Regions from separate parts of the Homo sapiens genome. Here regions 1, 2, 3 and 5 are each linked to region 4. Evidence: promoter capture Hi-C in 16 types of primary human blood cells and fetal thymus (Javierre and others, 2016). All regions are on one chromosome and are shown on one strand. The core of a region is centred on a gene start or on the middle of the fragment in contact, and the rest is flanking DNA. Distances in the headings are between cores, read along the strand shown.

Region 1 (4,279 bases), core at 1,768-4,267, 1.6 Mb before region 4:
CATATTGAGCAATAAAATACCATTATATTTTAAGAAAGAGTAACAATCCTTGCTTTCCTCTTTGAGTTTTAAAATAAATTGTTCCGTGTCATCAGTGAGAAAAGAAAATTTGGTTGATTAGCACTGAGTTCTCATCGCAAATAATTAATATTTATCCAACACTTCTTCTTAATTTTTATTGAATTGTTTGAAATCTTCCTCCTTTTTTAATACACTGATCTTCAGTAAACCTATAGGTGTAAATCACATCCTTAAAATATCAAAGGTAATGATTATAACTTGGGGTCTATAACCCACAGGCAAATCCAACCCCTTGCCTCTTTTTGTAAACAAAGTTTGATTGGAACACAGCCATACTCACTCATTTACTATTGTCTATGGCTGCTTTTTAGCTACACCAGCCAAGTTCAGTAGTTGCTATAGAAACCATACAGTCCACAAAGCCTAAAGTATTTACTATCTGGCCCTTTATAGAAAAACTTTGTTGATCCCTGCCCTATGCCATTGATACATCCACAGATAGAAGACTTCATTATTCCTCTTAACATCTGTCTTCTGGATACTCATCAATTCACTCATTCATTCATTTGTTAATCAACTAATGTCTGTGAAACATCTTCTGTGCCCCTGGCACACAGATGAAGAATGGGTTAGAGACTAGTGGGGAAACAGACTAAAGAATACCACCAGGTGATGGCTGGTCTAATAAGACAGGAGCCTGGTAAAAAGGAAGCCCAGGAGGCATCAGGCTGAGGGAATCAGATAAGGTCTCCGGCAGTGTACAGTTTGGGCGCTTCAGGTATTATGGTTGAGATACTATTACCCATTTTAACAGTGATGTCAAAAATCACTGGTTTACATTATGCTTTTATGACTTCACAAAAGGCACATTCTGACTTACTGATAGATCTTTCATATTATAAAAGTGTTGAGACAGTTTGGAAGAGATGTAGCTTCTCTGTGACATCAGGAGAGCTGATCATCTCCAAGCATCTGATAGTAAGGGCACCAGTTCTTCCCCAAAGTTGTAAGGACTAAGTAACATTAGGTGTCAGACAGAATACAGTCAGGGAAACTATTCAACACAAGATTCACCTGCGCTTCGTGGCCCACCACAATCAACTGCTTATATTCCCTTTTTTGTTTACCCACCAATCCCACCAAAACCTCATTGGTCTATGTTGAACCTTATAACTGGAGAAGTTAGCCTCCTGTGTGAGCAGAAAATAAATACCTAATAAATAAATGATTGATGCAATGAGTGAGGATGATCGCTCCTTTGGTGTTTTAATGAATGGCAAAGGATGAAATGAATACTATGACATACATTGTCTAAGTGAATATCTAGGATTCAAGCTTAAGTATAAGCTTAAGCTTAGCCAAGTCAGCATAAATGACATTTTAAAATATGCTTGCTTTGTTTTTGTTTTTGACTTATTGAATACTTACCTCCCTGGTAATGGATAAAAACAATGGGAAATTCTTAGCAACCTAAACAGCCAAATAAGACTTATATTGAACTATTATAATGTGATCAATTTATTTTTAATCAAACTATAAACATTTGATTGGACTGGGTACCTGGAAACAGGCTGTGCTTTACATACAAATTAGCCATATGTTTATTAAAGAATGTTAATAAAAGTATGTTGACGTTTTTCCTTTCTTAAGTGATTTTAAAGTGACATTTTATTTCTATATATTTGCATTTAAATATTTAAATAATTGTCCATTGACCTAAGCAAAATAAATACTGCAAAAGAAAACCAAAAAATGTTCACTTATTAAAACAACAAAGAAATTGCTTCATTTCGGAAGGAGCAGTACCCCAGATAATCTTTTATTCAACAAATATAAATTGGCATTTTATTCAATTACAAAAGATTGCTAGTGTAGTTGGAAACCTTTACAATAAATGTTTGGGGACTCTCAAAGCCAGTGAGGGTATGATCGATCAATTACAACATCAGAATATATACTCTATTTTAGCTTGATAAGATTTATATGCTGAAATGTAAACACTCCTGGATTTAAAAAATGTATATATGATTGATAGATTTCTTGGCTCTGATAGCATTAGAGGATTTGTTTTATTTTGTTTTGACTGTAGTCTCCGCTATAAGTAGGAATCACTGTTTTAAAGCATTATGTATCTAAATAGTTCCAAATATTTTTTAAAATGTAAATGAAAAGAAAAATCTACACCTAAATTTTCTCTTGCCTTTTTCACGTGGGCAAAAAAAACTAATGTGACAAGTTTACAAGAATCTCTATTATTCTTTTCCTTTATGTAGCCCAGTTTCTTTTTTACTTGTGATATCCCAGGGTGTTCTCACGAAAATTAATTTCAAATCTAAAAGGCAAGGATAATCACTACTTTCAGCAGTAAAAGGTAACAGAAAGAAATTGCAGTTTAAGCACAGTTAGCATATAATTAAGAACAAGAAAAATTAAAGTATTCTTAAATATGTGTTGCTTTAATTTTTCTCCTGATGGCTTTTCAGATTACCTTAAAAAGATCTATCAAGACTCCTCCTCTAGAAAAGATCTATTAAAAGCCACAGACACTTGGAGATCCATGAGAAGGAAAAAAATGGGTCATCTTATACAGTTGATTATGTGAGTTGTCTACATGCAGTGCATATGTCAGCAACAAGGAAAACAACCTCCAGATACATTCTGCAGGCAGATTTTCTTCTGGAGAAAAACCTATGTTTTCCTATACATTGTGAAGCCAACAGGGTAGGGTAGGAGCAGTTCAGTTTCATCCATAAGCATCCACATCAGGCTGGTTTTTGAAAAGGGAGCCAAACCCACAATACCCCAGAAAATAATATTTTGTAATAACAAAAATGGTATATATATTTTTTTCCTATCTAAATCTGGAATCCTGACCACCTTGTTTTAAACAAGACAGAGATTGCAAGCTTCAATCTGTTTGGATAGAAAAGAATTTATATAAATGTTTTGTTCAAGCCCAAAAGGGAAAGAGAGTTTAAATATACAGTGCATGAAAGATGCATGCCCAACTTCAAAACAGCTTAGTGCACAGAAGAGGAAAAATAATCTAACCTTCTGTTAGTCATTCCCAACAGTTTTTAAGCTTAAATATCTTGCAATTTGCGACATCGTTTCAGTGACCCCAACAGTGAGAGATTAACCAAAATTTCATAACTGCCCTGCCCTCCTCCCCTCATGCATCTTGAGGGGAGGGGGAGAGAACAAGAAGGTCAAAGAACAAATGGAAACAAAATCTGTGTTTTGCACTCTTTCTCTGCACTTGAGAAAGAAAAGGAGGCACATAAATCTGTATAATACTAAACCAAATCTCTTTAATTCCAGTCAGCTTTTATCATTCAGCCACTGAGTCTGTGTGTGGAAAAATTCATGCTAATTCCCCCTAGCAACAGACTCAGCCTATCAGGAGACTTTATGTACCATGCAGCTGCCAGCCAGAGAGAATAACTCTAAGTAGGTCAGGCCTGTATTTCTAAAAATGCTACGGTCTAGTAACCCCACTGTCCCGTCTGTCTGCCCTGCCCCATAATAACCTCAATTGCTTGGTGACACAATGACATACTATCCTGTTAGAGTGCAATCACATCATGCTACATTATTCTGCTGCGAGCATGACTGCTGGGTGAAGGACCCTCGGAGGGGCAGCATTAATCAGGCGGGCATTCATGTCCAGCAGCACTTCGCTCTAGAAATGGGGACTGCATTAATGACCAGCTGTTTGAACTAACACAAACAAAATAATGTCTTCCACCCTGTTGGGTGCACAGAATACACTATTCTGATCTGGCAGGTTCCGCTTCTTGACTAAATCGAAGATGTAAATTAAACGGGCTCAGACAATGTCAGTTTTGGCAACCTCAAAGTGAGTATATTTAAATTATATTACATGTGATTCAAAAAGCTATTGATTTAATATATGCAGCTTTCCATGCTACAATTTTCCCTAATCCACATTTTAAAAAAAGAAAAATGCATACATGGGTAATGCAATACATATGCACATATTACCCAGCAAGCTAAACACACAGAGCTGAACTAAAATTGACTTCTCTTTGGGCAGAGAAACAAAGCAGGTCAGGAGTAATTGTGCAGCATGAACACAAATACAAACAGAAAATGAATGCCATGGAGGAGCACTGAAAACAAATAAGAGTAAACATTCTAAGCCTACGGACCAATCAGCTCCTCCCACTGTCTCTTTGTGGAGGCTGTAGTAGCACCCAAATCTCCAAGCACAAGAGACAAGGGAGGGAAGTGAACG
Region 2 (4,366 bases), core at 1,400-3,899, 1.5 Mb before region 4:
AGGCGGCTGGTGCAGAGCCTGTGCCTCACCACCACCCACAGCAATGAATGGAAACTGCCCCAGAGACTCCAGAAAGTGGGGAGAAATTCCCTGCTGAGCAGTTCAGTGCTCTAGGAGCAATAGTGTAATTAATGGCACTTACTGAAAGAGCGGGGCATTCCAAATTCAGCCACAAGGAAGAAAGACGCCTTACCACACACCCTACACAGCAGGCACAAAGCCCCTTGTCATGTTCCCTTTAGAGACTCAGGCAAATCTGATCAGGAACTGACATTCGCAGTACAGTTTTACATTTACCAAAAGGCATTAACTGTCCCCTGAGAGAAGAAAAAAATCTTCACATTTGACGGAAAGTTATGTGAAAGTTACAGTATGAGCTCACTTTGAGGATACCATAAGTCACATAGAGGAATTACCTGAGTAAAAACATTTATTTCACTTATTAATAGTATCTGATATCCAGTTTTATAGTACTTCTTATGTTTCCCATTGTCATAGGTTATATATATATGTTTTTAATTTATTTTGAGACAGGGTCTTGTTCTGTTGCCCAGGCTGGAGTGCAGTGGTGAGATCACAGCTCACTGCAGCCTCCAACTCCCAGGCTTAAGCAATCCTCCCACATCAGCCTCCCAAGTAGCTGAGACCACAGGCATGTGCCACCACACCCTGCTAATTTTTTTAATTTTTTTTGTAGAGACAGAGTCTCACTATATTGCCCATGTCGGTTATATTTTTAAATCTTTCCTTGCCTACAGCTAATATCTACATAGTATGTTTGATTGACAAGAAAAAAAAAAAACTAGTTGGAAAGTATCAGATATGCTGCTAATACAGAAATCTCATATTTGCATATAGTCCCCAGACCAAACAACCCCTCTGCAGAACCTAATGTTGTACAGAAACTCTTTTTAAAGAAAGAGTATATATTTTTATTTTCTTTATTTACATATATACATACACACATAAAAAGAGAGACACACTTATGAGTGTGTGTGACCGTGACAAGCAAGAAGGGATTCTAGAAGGATGCAGAAGATGGGAAAGGTAGTACTAGAACTGGAGCACTGCTACCACCTGAATGCTGACAATAACATTTCATGCAAAACCAAAATGGATGGAGGTTTTAAAAATTAAAATTAACTTGTCTGGCAACTAGTGCATTGAAGTGGAGGTTGAAAGACTAGGGAGACCTTTTCCACTCAGCCCTTGATTTGCTGTGGGGCCTACATCAAGTTGTGCTATGCCTCTGTTATAACGTCTGCAAAATGGAGATAACACTTCCTGCTACCTACCTCAGAGAGCTGTTAGAAGATTAGATACCGAAAAAGAAAATCCTCAAAGCCCTTTAAGTTTCTCATACATATAAGACATGCAATGTAATAAAACACCCGTACTCTCTACAAAAGCCCTGAGAGACTCACGGCTATAGAAATAGGAAACAGACGCCAGCTGTACAGCATGGATGCATTCACAATCAGGGAGGCTGGCTGCAGATTCCAGTGACAAGGCAGGGAAAATAACTCTGACATTCACATGTACTCAGACAAAACACCCAGGAAAAGGGAGGAAAATAGTATTGTTTCAGTAGAGCACCAGTAAGTGAAAAGAAGCAATCTTCACAGATAACATTCCTAATTCCTGCTTAAAAGTCTGGATCTACAAGAAGACAATCAAGTGACAACATTACACTGGTAGCCTTTAAGGTTTAGAAAAATCTCATATTAAAGTAAATTGGGCCAAGTAGAGTGGCTCACGCCTGTAATCCTAGCACTTTGGGAAGCTGAGATGGGAGGACCACTTGAGCCCAGTTTGAGACCAGCCTGGGCAACACAAGGATACCCCTATCTCTACAAACAATAACAATTTTAAAAATTAGCCAAGCATGGTGGCACACACCTGTGGTGCCAGCTACTCGGGAGGCTGAGGTGGGAGGATTGCTTGAGTGCAGGAGGTCAAGTCTGCAGTGAGCTGTGATCAAGCCACTGCACTCCAGCCTGGATGACAGAGCAAGCCTCTGTCTCAAAAATAAAATAAAATAAGTAAATTGGCTCTCTAGAGGGGTAAGGGTAATAACCCCCACACTGAACAAAATGTAAAGAAGAGAATGCATAAATTACAGTATTTTAAATTAATTTATACTGGAAACAAAAGCCATGCTTGACTGTACATAGCCATCTAAGGAAAATAATTACTCTTGGGTCCATAAGGAAATTGGGAGAAAAGTATTAAATGTTCATCTATTCTAAGATATTCTGAATTATGAAAAGTTTAAAATTCAAATTAATCAATTAATTAAACACATATTATTATTATATCAAGGATGTATTGTGAGTTCCATGTCAGGTTAAAATTAAAAAAGATGAATAATATCCTTTTCCTGGTTCTCATGAACCTCAAAGTCCAGCAAGGAGAGACAGAGACAAAATAAAGTATAACACAATGTGGGAAGGGTTTGAGTCAAGTATAAACAGAGTGCTAAGGAAGAACAGAGGGAAGATGTAATTGATTCTGTATGGAAAAGAGGAGGGGGAGGGGCTTAGGAAAGTCTCAGAGAATTTGACACTTAAACAAGACCTTGCAAAATGTACAATATTTCACCCAATATAGAGCAAGGGGAAGGGGCATTTTAGATAAATAAATGGCAGCCCACATCTCAAGGCATGTCTACATATGTCCGAGTTAAGTGTCACACAACGCAGACAGCCCGGAAGGGCCTGGATTGCAAGGTCTTTGTGAGGAAGGAGGCATCACAGGACGAGATTTTTGAAAAGAGACTTGGTATTTTCTACAACTCAATAAAAGAGAAGGAGGCAAGTGTACAGGAAGAGAAGCAGCAGGAACAGGAGGTAGCCCTGGCCCCTGGGCCTGAGACAGACCTTGGGGAAACCGACAGCATTGCTAAGGCCAGTTCTGTAGGTAGAGGTGAGGAAGACAAAGAGGCAGAGAAGCAGGAAGGCATAGTGCACTGAACCATGACTCAGAAATGGTCAAGAGTGGGACTTCCAGGAGAAGTAGCAGGCCCAACCTAGATGGACAGTGTAGTACACAGAATAATGGCCACCAATATATCAGGTCCTAATCTCTGGGACCTGTAAATGTTACCTTCTATGCAAAGACTTTGCAGATGTGATGAAATTAAAGATCTTGAGATGGGGGGATTATTTTGAATTATCTAGTTGGGCCTTAAATGTCATTACATGTATGCTTCTAAGAGGGAAGCAGAGGCAGATTTGACTACAGATGGAAGACAGGAAGGCAATGTGGCCGTGGAGGGGGCAGATATTGGAGTGATGAGGCCACAAGCCAAGGGATGTCAGCAGTTTCCAGAAGCTGGAAGAGAGAAGGAACAGATTCTCCCCCAGAGCCTCTGGCAGGAGCTCAGCCCTGTCAAAACCTAAATGTCTGTTGTTTTAAGGTGCCAAGTTTGTGGTAATTTGCTACAGCAGCCAGAGGAAATTAATACACACAGTGAACAAAGAGTCACCCCCAGCTGTTCTTAGATGCCACCATCACCAGTCTTGATAAGAATCATTCAGACCAAGGGCAGTGACTCACGCCTATAATCCCAGCACTTTGGGAGGCCAAGGTGGGAGGGTAGCTTGAGGCCAGGAGTTTGAGACCACCTTGGGCAGCAAAGCGAGACCTCATCTCAACAAAAAATAAAAATTAGCCAGGTATGGTGGTACACGCCTATAGTCCCAGCTACTTAGGAGGCTGAAGGAGGAGGACTGTTGGAGCCCAGGAGTTCCAGCCTGCAGTGAGCTATGATTTTACCACTGTGCTCCAGCCTGGGCAACAGAACAAGACCCCATCTTAAAAAAAAAAAAAAAAGAAGAAGAATTCAGATGGAAGGCACTCCAACTCTCAAGAATAAATTGAAGTCTAAGCTGCCACGTTAGAGGAAGACAAGATTATTAACCTTAGTAACTAGTCAAAATTTAGGAACAGAAACCCAGGTATAATCCTAGACTAGGTTAATACAAGGTGGCTGGAAGAACTATAAATAGAAGCCACCAAATGACAACATGTTGGGGAAGGAAAGTGGGTCTGAATAGTAGTGGGAACAACAGGAAAGACACAGCAACCCAGAGGTCATTACTGGGCCACCAAATTTCTGGTAGGATAGTCATTTTAATTTTAAGTGCCCATTGGATAGGGGAAGAGATGAGGGGAGAATGGAAAACGTTTACATGTACTATGTCTCAATCAGCACTGATTCAGAAACTGGACCAGAACTAGACCACCAAATCAAAGACATCAGGGAATACAGGTGTGGGAAGATTATGGCAAAGAGAAAGATGGGGCATGAAATGCTGAAAATCTTGAAATACACTCTTCAGTCAATAACAAAAGTAACATAAGG
Region 3 (4,091 bases), core at 1,244-3,743, 1.4 Mb before region 4:
CTGAGAGGCCGAGGGAGTAGTAATGGTTGAGGCCAAGAGTTCAAGATCAGCCTAGGCAACATAGCAAGACCCCATCTTTCTACAAAAAATTTAAAAATTAGCCAGGCATGGTGGTGTGTGCCAGTAGTCCTAGCTACTCTGAAGGCTAAGGAGAGAGGATCACTTGAGGTTGAGGCTGCAGTGAGATATGATCACGCCCCTGCACTTCAGCCTGGGTCACAGAGAGAGACCCAATTTCATGCAATTTTAGTAGTAGTATAAAAACGTACAACTAGTTTCACGATCTGTTTGGTGATTCCTATTAAAACCGAATGCATGGGCAGGGTGTGGTGGCTCATGCCTGTAATCCCAGCACTTTGGGAGGCCAAAGCAGGTGGATCGCCTGAGGTCAGGAGTTCGAGACCAGACTGGCCAACATGGTGAAACCCCGTTTCTACTAAAAATACAATCATTAGCCAGGGGTGGTGGCGGGTGCCTGTAATCTCAGCTACTCAGGAGGCTGAGGCAGAAGAATCGCTTGAAACCAGGAGGCGGAGGTTGCAGTGAGCCGAGATTGTGCTATTGCACTCCAGCCTGGGCTATACGAGCAAAACTCAGTCTCAAAACAAACAAACAAACAAAAATGGTAGGGTGGATAAAGTATATTCATATAACAAAATAGTGATAGTAACATCTTTGAACCTTTCAAACATGATGTTGAGGGGAAAATAAACCGCCCAACTCAAAAACATATATGCAGTAATATTTCATTTATATAAAGTTATAAATTTGGCAAAACTAATCCAAGAGAAGGCATGACAATAGTTTCCGAGGTGCTGGCAATTAATCAAATGCTGCCTATGTGAAAGAATTTATAAATATTCATTGAGCTGAGCTTTATACGTATGATTTGTGTACTTTCCACATGTGTGTTATACTTTAATTTTAAAAAATTATTTGAAATATAAAGAAAAATAAATCCTTAATTTACTTAACCCAAAAAGGTCTGGTCCTAAAGCTTCAGCTTAAGGAAATGATCAAAAGCCTGAAAAATTTTAGGCACAATATGTCAGGCAGCATTATTTGTAATGGCAAATGAGGAGTGTTCAACGATAAGGAAATGTAAACTATGGCGGACCTAATTAGTAAAATATTACAAAATATTACCTAGCAATAAAAAGTATACTCATGGCCAGGTACAGTGGCTAACATCTGTAATCCTAGAACTTTGGGAGGCCCAGGCGGGTGGATCACCTGAGGTCATCAGGAGTTCGAGACCAGCCAGGCCAACATGGTGAAACTCCATCTCTACTAAAAATAGAAAAATTAGTCCAGCATGGTGGCAGGTGCCTGTAATCACAGCTACTCAGGAGGCTGAGGCAGGAAATTGCTACAACCTGGGAGGCGGAGGTTGCAGTGAGCCAAAATCACGCCATTGCACTGCAGACTGGGGAACAGAGCAAAAACTCCATCTCAAAAAAAAAAAGAAAAAGAGAAAGAAGTATACTCATGACCCAATGATCTATGCAAAAACACTCACAAAAGACAAAGAACAGGTGGGGGCACGGTGGCTCACGCCTGTAATCCCAGCACTTTGGTAGGCTGAGGCAGTGGATAACTTGAGTTCCAGACCAGCCTGGCCAATAAGTAAAACCTCGTCTCTAGTAAAAATACAAAAACTAGCCAGGCGTAGTGGTGGGCGCCGGTAATCCTGGCTACTTGGGAGGCTGAGGCAGGAGAATAACTTGAACCTGGAAGGTGGAGGTTGCAGTGAGCTGAGATCGCGCCATTGCACTCCAGCCTGGGCAACACAGCAAAACTCCATCCCCCCACACACAAAAAAAAGACAAGGAATGACTGAAAGTGAGCCAGTTGGAAATATGCCAAAATCATTCAGTACAGTATTCAAGTAACTGGGTTTTATGTAACTTTTTTTTTTTTTTTTTTTTTGCTTCTCTTAAAAAATTGTCTTCATGGCTGGACATGGTGGCTCACACCTATAATCCCAGCACTTTGGGAAGCCAAGGCGGGCGATCACCTGAGGTCGGGAGTTCAAGACCAGCCTGACCAACATGGAGAAACCCCATCTCTACTAAAAATACAAAATTAGCCGGGGGTGGTGGTGCATGCCTCTAATCCCAGCTACTCGGGAGGCTGAGACAGGAGAATTCCTTGAACCCAGGAGGCGGAGGTTGCAGTGAGCTGAGCTCGCACCATTGAACTCCAGCCTGGGCAACAAGAGTGAAACTCCATCTCAAAAAAAAATTTCATCATTTGTTAGACTAGAAAAAATAAGAAGTTATTATTATTACTTAATATTACAGAATGTTTTGATCTTTTTTTTTTCCACTACATCTGGGAGGGTGAGTCAGAAATTTCTCCTCTGTTTCACCAAGCACAGAATGCACCACACCACCACAAAACAGTTCTCTAAACAGTAAGTGTGAAATCACTTGGGCAACTTTTTTTTTACTTTTTCTGTTTTGAGACGGAGTCTCACTCTATCACCCAGGCTGGAGTGCAGTGGCATGATCTCAGCTCACTGCAACCTCTGCCTCCTGGGTTCAAGAGATTCTTCTGCCTCAGCCTCCAGAGTAGCTGGCACTACAGGCGTGTGCCATCACGCCCGGCTAATTTTTGTATTTTTAGTAGAGATGGGGTGTCATCATATTGGCCAGGCTGGTCTCGAACTCCTGACCTCGTGATCCGCCCGCCTCGGCCTCCCAAAGTGCTGGGATTACAGGCGTGAGCCACCGTTCCCGGCCTCACTTGGGCAACTATTAATTGACGTACCTGCATATACTTATGCCTCCAAAGCCCTCATCTTGTAAGAAATCTAATACTATTCTTTAAGTAGAAAAATGTAATATACTGATGACCTAGCTCAGGAATCCTACGGAATACAGTCTTAAGTTTCCTTGACTTTTGCCTCAGGGACTAATGAGAAGAAGGCCTCAGATTCTTTAATTGATGGCTCTGGAACTGACCAGTGATAAAGAAGATTGATCTTTCATTTGAAGGCATGCTTAGTGTTTGGGTTACAGTTATATGAAATAATTATGTAGAAGAAAACTGCACAAGCATAAGGCACTGTGCTACGCTTTGTGGGATTATAAAAGTATATGAGACCTATTCCTACCTTCAAGCAGCTTAGAGTCTTCACTATCAGACAGCACACAATATTATGTAAACCAAATACAAAGATGTCAATGAATACTTATGTTAATTAGAGCCATCCTTATTTTTCTCTAAGATCTAACACGATCACAGGGGTTCTAAGTCTGGAAACTATATTTCTCAGATTCCTTGGCCAGCAAGGTTCTAGGTTTAGGTTCTTTCAAAGGCACTTATACAAAACTGGAAGATGGCAGAATCCATTTGTCTTTGACTCTGGCAGCAATAGCAGCAGCAGATTTGTACAGAGTCTTGTAACACAAGCTCTAGGCGCTGGTCTCCTGTAGTGACTGAGTAGGCCGTGGTGGGGCGACGAAGACATACTCTGGCATTAGAAGTAATAGTTTCCTGCAGTTACTGGTCTAGGAAACACCGACACCTCCACCATTCATTTGCTGCTCTAGTCCTTTTAACAGTTACAACCTAATTCCCTGTATTGACTCCTACCCTGCTTGAAATATTAATAGATAAATAGGTTCAGTTTCTTCGAGTGACCCATGACTCAGTCAGGAAATGGCAGAATCTCTTCTTCTGGTCTCTTTTGGAAAAAGGCTAAATCCTAGTGTACAAAACATAGTCTTCTAACTCTACCACCAACTTTTTAAAGCTATTTTTTGACCATCATTATGAGCTTTCTCTCTTAATTGCCAAAAATATGGAGAATGATGATACAGGAAAATTAATGTTTTTATATCAAACATTTGACAAAGATTAATATTCTCTTGAATTAGATATGTTTATCCTTTAGAATAGTAATGACATATTAAGTAGAGGGATGCTCCTTGAGGACAATAATATAATCACTGGAGGCTTAGCCTGTTATTAATTAAGCTTATCAAAAGTATCATTATGTGTGTGCACGCAAATCTATACATACATATTGTATGCCTTCTTTTTCTTTTCTTTTTTTTTAAGACAAGGTCTCCCTCTTTCACCAA
Region 4 (4,082 bases), core at 664-3,163:
ACATTATGAAACTCTTAGAAAAAAACATAAGCACAAATCTTTATGATGTTAGAGTAGGCCCTTCTTTCTTAGCTAAGAAATGAAAAGCACAAGCAACAAAAGGAAAAACAGATTAGATGAAGAAGATACAGAAATGGGCCAGGTGCAGAGGCTCATGCCTATAATCCCAACACTGGGAAGCCAAGGTGGCAGGATCACTTCAGGCCAGGAGTACAAGGCCAGAGCCTAGGCAACACGGACCCTATCGCTACAAAAAAAAAAAAAAAAGTAAAATTTAGCCGGGCATGGTGGCATGCACCTGTAGTCCCAGCTACTTGGGAGGCTGAAGTGGGATCACTTGAGACCAGGTGGTCAAGGCTGCAGTGAGCCGTAATCGAGCCACTGCACTCTGGCCTGGGTGGCATAGGGAAGCCGTGTCTCAAAAACACACACATACAAATGGCTGATAAGCACATGAAAAGATGTCAACATCATGAGCCATCAGGGAAATGGAAATCCAAACCACAATAATACACCACTTCATACCCATTAGGATGGGTAGAATCAAAAAGACAAATAACTGTTGACAGGCATGTGGATTACATCACCCAGAGGGGAAGAAAAAGAGAACAGAGGTAGGAGAAGGTACAAGACCACGACTTGAGAGACTCCAAATTTAACTGCCAGATAAAGGAAAATCAGCTTATAATGGATTCCAAGAAGCAGCCACCAGACAAGGAAAAAAATCCATGGGCCATGGAAGGCAAATGAAAAGGGCATCTCAAAAAAGTGGACATGGTCAATGCTGGTGAATGAAAATGAAAGGTTAAGTAAAATAAATGAAAATATCTCTTCGATTTAATGCTATGTAAAGCACAATGTTTCCATAACATGATAGTGGCAAATAGCTAAAACATTAGGCTACCTCTCTGCATTTTCTAACATGCAGAAATACGCACAGCACTCAAACATAAAAGGTTTAAAATAAATCAGTACCTTAATTATCTGCAATTAGTCTAAAGTCCTCTTGAAAGATGAGTCTGGAAAATAAAAATTGATTAGGAAAAGTAAGCACCCAAAAAGTTCACAAAACCACTGTAAGGATTCTTTACTTAAAAGGAATCAGACTCCATAAAAGACTGCTTTATACAGCAGGATTAATGATGCTCCATACTACTTGTAACTTCTTACTGATTACAACAGGTGTGCTGACATCTGCCGTGACGGTGATCCAGTGTCTGGCTTTAGTAATAAATGTTGTATTCAGCACCGCAACACGTCTGCATAGTGCGAGTAACCAACCACTACAAAACAGGATTAAGTCAATAAGGTAGATAGACATCCAGATCACGTTCCATCCGAAAGATAACTGTCGTCCCGAGATTCAGAAAAAGGTTTTATGAGCAAAGAAGAACGAAAAGTGAAAAAGCAAGACACCTGCTTTTCTCAATAACTTCTGCTTAAATTCTTAACATACTGATCTGGGAAAGCTATATAACTGCGAAAGCCTTGTCACATCTACAAATTCACTAAGGTATAAAGTGGGAGAACAAATGAAGTTAAACCTGACAATAAGGAACGAGGTGCCTAAAATACTCCTAACTGGAGAGCGGCACCTGAGGCCAACGACCCTATCCTCGCTCCTGGAAGCCCCATCTGCCTCCCAATTCCCCCATCCCAGCTGGCAAATCCCCTTTTAACTGCGAAACAAATTTGCAAACAGCCCAAGAAAAACTGAAACTGGAGAAACAAGGCTTGGCCATAAAAGGAGCTGTGGCCACACTCTGCCCCACATGGACCCATCGGCCACCCTTACCCAGAAGTCGGGAAGTAAAAACCAGTCCAAAGTGAGAAAATCAACCCGCCACTCTCCGGAAGCTGCACAGACTTTAGATGGAGAGCGCCATGACACATACGTCCCGCCACGTTTATTTGCGCATGCTCAGCGACGGTGGCCCGAAGAGATCAAATTACATCATTGCTGAAAGCGCTAGTTCTGGTTTAACTTAGTTTAGGAATGACTACGCTTCAAGTTCCTTTGATTCCAAGAACTAAAATAACAACCCTGAGTCCTCGGGTTCCTAGAAATGCTTAATAGCCAACTTCTCCTAAGCTTTTATGTGTTAGACACTGTGCTAAGTACTTTGCATAAATATTATTCACTATTTATTTATTATTATTATTATTCCCAGTTTACAAAAGAGGACACTGGAAGTTTAAGGACTTAATCTAAGTTACTCTACTAGTCGTGCTGCGCTCTGGGCTGGATCCGATGCTGTCTGACTCCCAAAGAACTTGCTCTTTTCACTGCATTTTACTAGCCTCCTCAATCATTTGTGAAAAGAGGTCTCTTCTTTAATATTAAAAAAACAGGAAGGAAAGGATAAAGGTCAGTTGGTAGGTTTCACTTAATATACATCATTGAGCACCACACAAGTGTTTTTGTTTTTTGTTTTGGAAAACTTAGATGGCAGTTTAGCAGACACCTATGGAAAGAAAATACTTTTATGGAGTACGGATTCTCACCCGCTTTCTCTACATATGTTATCTCACTTTACTATTCGTTACCCAAGACACTGTATTTGACCATGTGTTTACCAGAAGAATATCTTTACTTGAAAAAGTAAAGGTAATAGGAGGCAATAGGCCATGAAGAAGGGTCAGAAATCGTGAGTTTTATGCCTGACTTAGGGTTTCATAGTGATTTGGGGCAATTACTTTGTTTTGCAAATGCCTTTCCTAGTACAATTTCATCTAATTAAAATGCCATCCATCTACTCAAGAGGCTGATGTGGGAGGATCACTTGAGCTCAGAAGTTTGAAAACAGCCTGGGCAACACAGTGAGACCCAGTCTCTAAAATAGATTTAAAAAAAAAAAAAAAAACCACCCTTTTCTCTGTTTATCCATATCCATAAAATAATCTAAACTGTGCCCTGGGGTCCACTGTTGTCTTTACCCACCTAAATTAAAATTGTGTATTTATGTTGCCCTACTTTTTTTTTTTTTTTTTTTTTTTTTTTAGATAGGGTCTTCTTCTGTCACCCAGGCTGGAGTACAGTGTTACCATCACAGCTCACTGCAACCTCTCCCTCCTAGCCTCAAGAGATTCTCATGCCTTAGCCTCCCAAGTAGCTGGGACTACAGGTGCACACCACCATACCCATCTAATTCCATCTCTTTCACTAGACCAAAAGTAGGCCCTGGGTTATCTTCTTGGTTGTAATCGCACTACCTAGCACATAACCTTGTGCCTATGTTTATAGCTTCTCAATAAACATATGTTGAATGAATGAATGAATGAATGAATGACTCCACCCCTTTTCCCCCAAGATCTAGTTGAGTTCAGTAAAAGATATTTTACTGAGTATGTACCCCATGACCACAAGCACTGTGATAGATGCTAGAGCTAAAAAGAAAGAAAAAAAGTACTGCCTATTGCAATTGCAGGCTATTTTGAAAAAATTCATTTCAGTAGAGAATAGCAATCACTATGAAAGATGAATGCACAGGAACACAAAGGTGAAGTAAGGGAAATGGATGAAGGCATTCCAAGCTGGAGAGTCAGCCAGAGCAAAAGCAAGGAGGCCTGAAATGATGAATTATTCCACAGTGTAAAAGCAAAGAGAGTGAAGCTGGTGATGGGAGAAGTCTACCAGAGAAAGGGAAGCACAGGGACTAGATCAAGGTGAACCTTGTGTATTCAAAGGCATTAGACTTAATCCTGGATGTATGTAGTAGGCAACATGAATGTGTTCGAGCAGATTATTCTCTCAGGACAATGGGTTTGAGGACGATATTTCAGACATGAAGAAATAGTAAAAGCCTAAATTGAGTTGTTGGCTGGGAGGAATGGGAAGGAAGGACAGATTTAAACAAATTGAGGAGGTAACAGCAGCAAGACTTGGTGATTGATAGGTACGAAAAAAGAGGAAGAAAGGATGTTTTCAAGTTTTGGCTACAAAAACTAACTAACAGGTGAAACCTCTCTCTTTAAGCACCTTTAGTCTAAATCCTTTGAAGTCAGTAACCCTACCTCTAGGAATTTATCTTACAGAAATATACATAATGACCTATGTTCCAGAGTATTTTTTGAAGCATTGC
Region 5 (4,400 bases), core at 1,302-3,801, 1.5 Mb before region 4:
CTCTGGTTCTCTATAGGACAGTGAAGGAGTGTTTAGTCTCTAGTAAGCTTTCTGAGACAAAAATTCATAAAGATACATGGAAGAGTTTCCTTGCTAGACATTTAAAAGAAACCAAAAGAATATTTTACCACTCACCTACCCCTTAACACAAATGCAAATTTTTTTTCCCATTAAGCGCTCAGGGACAGAGTATTCCATTTTAACACGAATAAGTCTCTCTTATACATAAGAAACAGCAAAAGAATATCGTATAAATCTTGCTTTCCCAAGAAATAGTCCAAAAAAAAAAATGTGTTATCTGAGAGAGAAACTAGAAGGTCAAATGGGAAAAGAGACACAGAAGAAGAACCTTATTTTCTCCAGCTCAGAAATACTTCCCTACCATTCCTTCTCTGGTACATTAACCTTGCCCTACTCCCTGAACTTTTAATGGGGAAGAGTGAAGGAAATTTATTGGTGGGAGACTTAGGAGGCTTTTAGTAATGTTAGAATACTGCTTACTGTTTACTAGATACATGGAGAGACTTAAATAAAAAATTCATGCCAACAGTATCTGTACAAGCGACCAGCTGTTCTTATTTATTCCAACAGACATGGTTACATAGGACTCCAGGCTCTATTATCCAGGCTCAGACAGCCACTCTGGCAACAACTGCACAGGGTTTGAAGCATTTCAGGTCCCAGAACAAGCCCTTCATTTCACAGAGAAGTGCTGAAGATCGTTTATTCCAGTAAGAACTCAAAATTCTACCCAAAAGCTATCACCAGAGGAAGAAAAAAAAAAACCTCACCAATTTTTCAGGCTCAGCTCCTAAATTAAACTTTCTTTCTCCCTCTCATGCCCAAGACCAACCAGAACCCACCAGCTCTGTCATCAATGACTGACTCCATCACATGAAACAGGACCAGAGGCTGATAATCCCAGTTTAGTAGAGTCTCTCCATGGTAAACTTTGAGAGAATTCGTATCCTTCCATCCTAGAGTGACTTTGTATACAGGCATCTCGTTTGAAAGGTGTGTGAGCACTCTTTTTTGTTATTTTTACTTTCTGATCAATATCAGCAAATGGCTGAGAACTGTATAATTATGAGAAAGCAGCTCTAAAGAATACTAGCTTTCATGTATTGAAAGGGACTAGTGTAAAGGCAGCAACTACAGTAGCAACTGACATTCATGAGTGTTTTCTAAAGCACTGGGTTTTATACCACAAGCTTCATCATCTCACTTAAACCTTAAAATAACCCTATGACATGTGCTTAGTAATTTCATTCCAAAGAGTGCAGTATGGGAAAAAGTCGGGGGAAGGCAAATTTGCAGTGAAGAGACTTGGCACCATGACCTCAGCCAGGTTATCAAGATCAACATCTATAGTGATACGTCATGGTGATCATAGGTACTCTTGATATGATGGTGGAGAATGGTGCTTCACCTCTGTGGTCTTCCTCTGAAAAAACCCATAACCAAGTCCAATCATGAGATGAATTTCAGTTGAAGGACATTCTACAAAATATCTGACCAGCACGCCTCAAAACTGTTAAGCTCATTAAAACAAGGAAAGGCTGAAAAACCCTCATAGTTCAGAGGAATCTAAAGAGACATGACTACTAAATGCAATGTCGTATCCAGTATGACCCTGGAACAGAAAAGGATATTAGGGAAGAACCAGTGAAATATAAAGATAAAAAAAAAAAAACCCAAACTGTGGAGTCATTTAATAGGCAAGTCCCAATGTTGAATTTTTTTTGACAAGCATACATAATAAGGTAACAAGAAAAGGAACCAGGCAAGGGATGTAAGACTACACTCTTCCTTTTTTTGCTACATTTCTGTAAATCTAAAACTACTTAAAAATTAAAAGTTTTTTTTTTAAACTCTGAGGATGATTCTCTTATCTCCATTCTAGAGATGAAAAGCTATAGGTTCAATAACTAACTTCTCAACATTATAATACAGAGCAAAAGAACCCTTCAGATATGCCTACTTCACATTTAAGCCACCAATGGAATAGAGCTGTGGGATAGGCCCTTGCATAAGATTTATAAAAACTACTTAATGCCAGATACATGCTGAGAAAATTAAACTGAAAGAATTTATTTCACTTACATTCCTCGTAATGAGATACTTTTATTTTAGCATATACTCTTAAGCAAAGGGGCCATAACATACTTTCTAAATATTTCATCCTTATTTCCCATCACAAATTTCAATTACTCAGTCAATGCTATGTGATGATCACATTTAAACAAAATTAGCTTAGGATTTTGCCAAAATGTTGACACTTTAACATTCCCTGAGAGAAGGCGGCATCAGCCAATGGACCTTTCACCCTATAATGTCCTATCTTTTAGCTACTCTTATTTGTGACACCCACATTTTCTCTTCTGATACACTAACTGGATATTTTGGTGCTGGTGAACTCAGCCTGCTGCCATAACACAGGATCAGTGAGTTACAAGTTAGGGTGCCCCTCAAAAGAGAATGACTACATCAGTATAAAGAAAGCCTAGCTTATACTTTGAGTTTCTTCAGATCCTGAGACATAGAAGATCAGCTGTGGCTGCTCTAAAACTCTGAAGACAACTAAATGCCCTCTGAAATATAAATTCTAACAGTGTTATCTACCAAACCAGTGTTTCCCACAGTGTGAAGCCAGCCTCTCTGGGAAAACTCCAATATCCTCCCAGGAAGGCTCAAGCAGTCCAAGACATATTCTTTTTTTCCTTGGGACTTGCCAAAATCAGACAGTAGGATTCAACAAATATTTCTAAATACTGTACTTAATATATTGTTCCCTGTGAGAATATAAAGTGGAAGCGATCCAGCAAGTAAGAAAACAGGCTGCCTTCTGTGTGTGATTAGATTAGCCTGCCTAAAGACATGTTTTTCTCAATCTTGTTCTATTTACAAGTCTTTTTTTGTTTGTTTTTTAAAGGGCAAGTGATTTCTTGAATTATTGATTTTACTACTCAGGGCTTGTCTCAGGAAGAGCTAAATCTCTTTTTCCTCCCTTTATACTTCAAACTATCCCAAGGCAATTCGTTAAAGGCATCATGTCTGTTTTAACGAGAGGAAAGGATGGAGAGAAGAAGGGGGAAGTGAAAATGACAATTTTCCCACAAAATCATAGCAAAAGAGCAATAGAATAACCAATGGGCTAACTCTCCCGATTCAATGGACAATGGAAATAGAGCCAAATCCAAAGTTTAACTTCTTCCCTTCACCAATCAATAGGAAAGAAAGAACCAAGTTCAAGAATCCATAATCATCCCCGCAGACAGGCAGACAGAAGACAAAGACAAACACACAAACACACACAAGGAAAGCAACTGTGGCACATTGGCACTGACCCAAAACAAACCCTTCCTCTCAAGAACCTTTCTGTTTTTATAACTTATGAAAAACTTTTTCAGAGTTTTAAAACTCAAAAAAAATCTTCATTTTGGAGCCCTTGATGGTTCAGGCTGGAATTTTTTTTTTCTAATCTCACACCAGTATGAGAAGTCATGTTAAGAGGTCATTTGAAGGATTAAACTTCTAAGATCATTTTCATGAGAAAGAGACTGAACATCAGAAGACTGTCCTTTGGGTAGATTCTTAAGGGCTCAGAGAAGAATTTGAACTCCTCAATGAGCATCTCCACATCAGCCTGAATCCTAACCCTCTTTCAGTCAGACATCCCAAATCTAAACCTCCTATTTAAGGCCTCAGAGTCTCAACATTCCAAGTGAGTGGACACTAGAGTCATCACACTCAATCTCCCCATCCCTGCAAACCCTGTTCTAACTCCCCAAAGGACACCTGCAGAACATTAAACCAAGATTGAGTATCAAAGCCAAAACCTCACAAAATATGGAAAAGTCAGATTTTTCAAAGCACTTGCAAATAAGCTTTTTAATGTCCTTTAAAGTTTTCATTAATTATAACAAGTCTTCTCAATTTTTGCTTTTGACTTTCCAGACAATTCATGGTGTCAACTATCTACAGTACAGAAAAAGTTTCACACATTTAATATGTGAAACAGCATAAAGCAGATAAAACGCATATGTAAAAATACGAAGCAAAACGTCAGTCTGACATCATAATTTTTTTTTTTTTTGAGATGGAGTTTCACTCTTGTTACCCAGGCTAGAGTGCAACGGCACAATATTGGCTCACTGAAACCTCTGCCTCCCGGGTTCAAGCAGTTCTCCTGCCTCCGCCTCCCAAGTAGCTAGGATTACAGGCGCCCACCACCATACCCACCTAATTTTTATATTTTTAGTAGAGACAGCGTTTCACCATGTTGGTCAGGCTGGTCTCGAACTCCTAACCTCAGGTGATCCACCTGCCTCGGCCTCCCACAGTGCTGAGATTACAGGCATGAGCCACCATGCTGGGCCGTGACATCATAATTTTACATG

The links. Contacts are between HindIII fragments. The CHiCAGO score rates a contact against its expected background, and 5 or more counts as called.
Region 1: a contact is called between a fragment that was not itself captured here and the fragment with the promoter of CDKAL1 in region 4, in 1 of 17 cell types (fetal thymus). The highest score is 7.7, in fetal thymus.
Region 2: a contact is called between a fragment that was not itself captured here and the fragment with the promoter of CDKAL1 in region 4, in 1 of 17 cell types (fetal thymus). The highest score is 6.1, in fetal thymus.
Region 3: a contact is called between a fragment that was not itself captured here and the fragment with the promoter of CDKAL1 in region 4, in 1 of 17 cell types (fetal thymus). The highest score is 5.3, in fetal thymus.
Region 5: a fragment that was not itself captured here is called in contact with the fragment with the promoter of CDKAL1 in region 4 in 1 of 17 cell types (fetal thymus); the score reaches 5.7 in fetal thymus.

What each region holds. Positions count from the first base shown.
Region 1 is chr6:22,149,197-22,153,475 of GRCh38, reverse strand. The region is part of intron 9 of CASC15 (cancer susceptibility 15); the gene reads right to left. Among named protein-coding and RNA genes, the nearest start is that of NBAT1, 4.1 kb to the right of the region's middle. RefSeq lists an enhancer at 2,318-4,279. The HindIII fragment of the contact is 176 bases long and covers 2,930-3,105 here.
Region 2 is chr6:22,021,134-22,025,499 of GRCh38, reverse strand. The region is part of intron 7 of CASC15 (cancer susceptibility 15); the gene reads right to left. Among named protein-coding and RNA genes, the nearest start is that of NBAT1, 120 kb to the left of the region's middle. The HindIII fragment of the contact is 7,165 bases long and covers 1-4,366 here.
Region 3 is chr6:21,937,031-21,941,121 of GRCh38, reverse strand. All of the region lies in intron 5 of CASC15 (cancer susceptibility 15), which reads right to left. Among named protein-coding and RNA genes, the nearest start is that of NBAT1, 210 kb to the left of the region's middle. The HindIII fragment of the contact is 2,987 bases long and covers 1,000-3,986 here.
Region 4 is chr6:20,532,288-20,536,369 of GRCh38, reverse strand. CDKAL1 (CDKAL1 threonylcarbamoyladenosine tRNA methylthiotransferase) reads right to left here and starts at 1,913. Exons shown (of 16, transcript NM_017774.3): 1 at 1,796-1,913; 2 at 976-1,019. RefSeq lists enhancers at 1,715-1,794, 1,825-1,984. The HindIII fragment of the contact is 2,844 bases long and covers 1-2,094 here.
Region 5 is chr6:22,065,642-22,070,041 of GRCh38, reverse strand. All of the region lies in intron 8 of CASC15 (cancer susceptibility 15), which reads right to left. Among named protein-coding and RNA genes, the nearest start is that of NBAT1, 79 kb to the left of the region's middle. The HindIII fragment of the contact is 2,676 bases long and covers 1,214-3,889 here.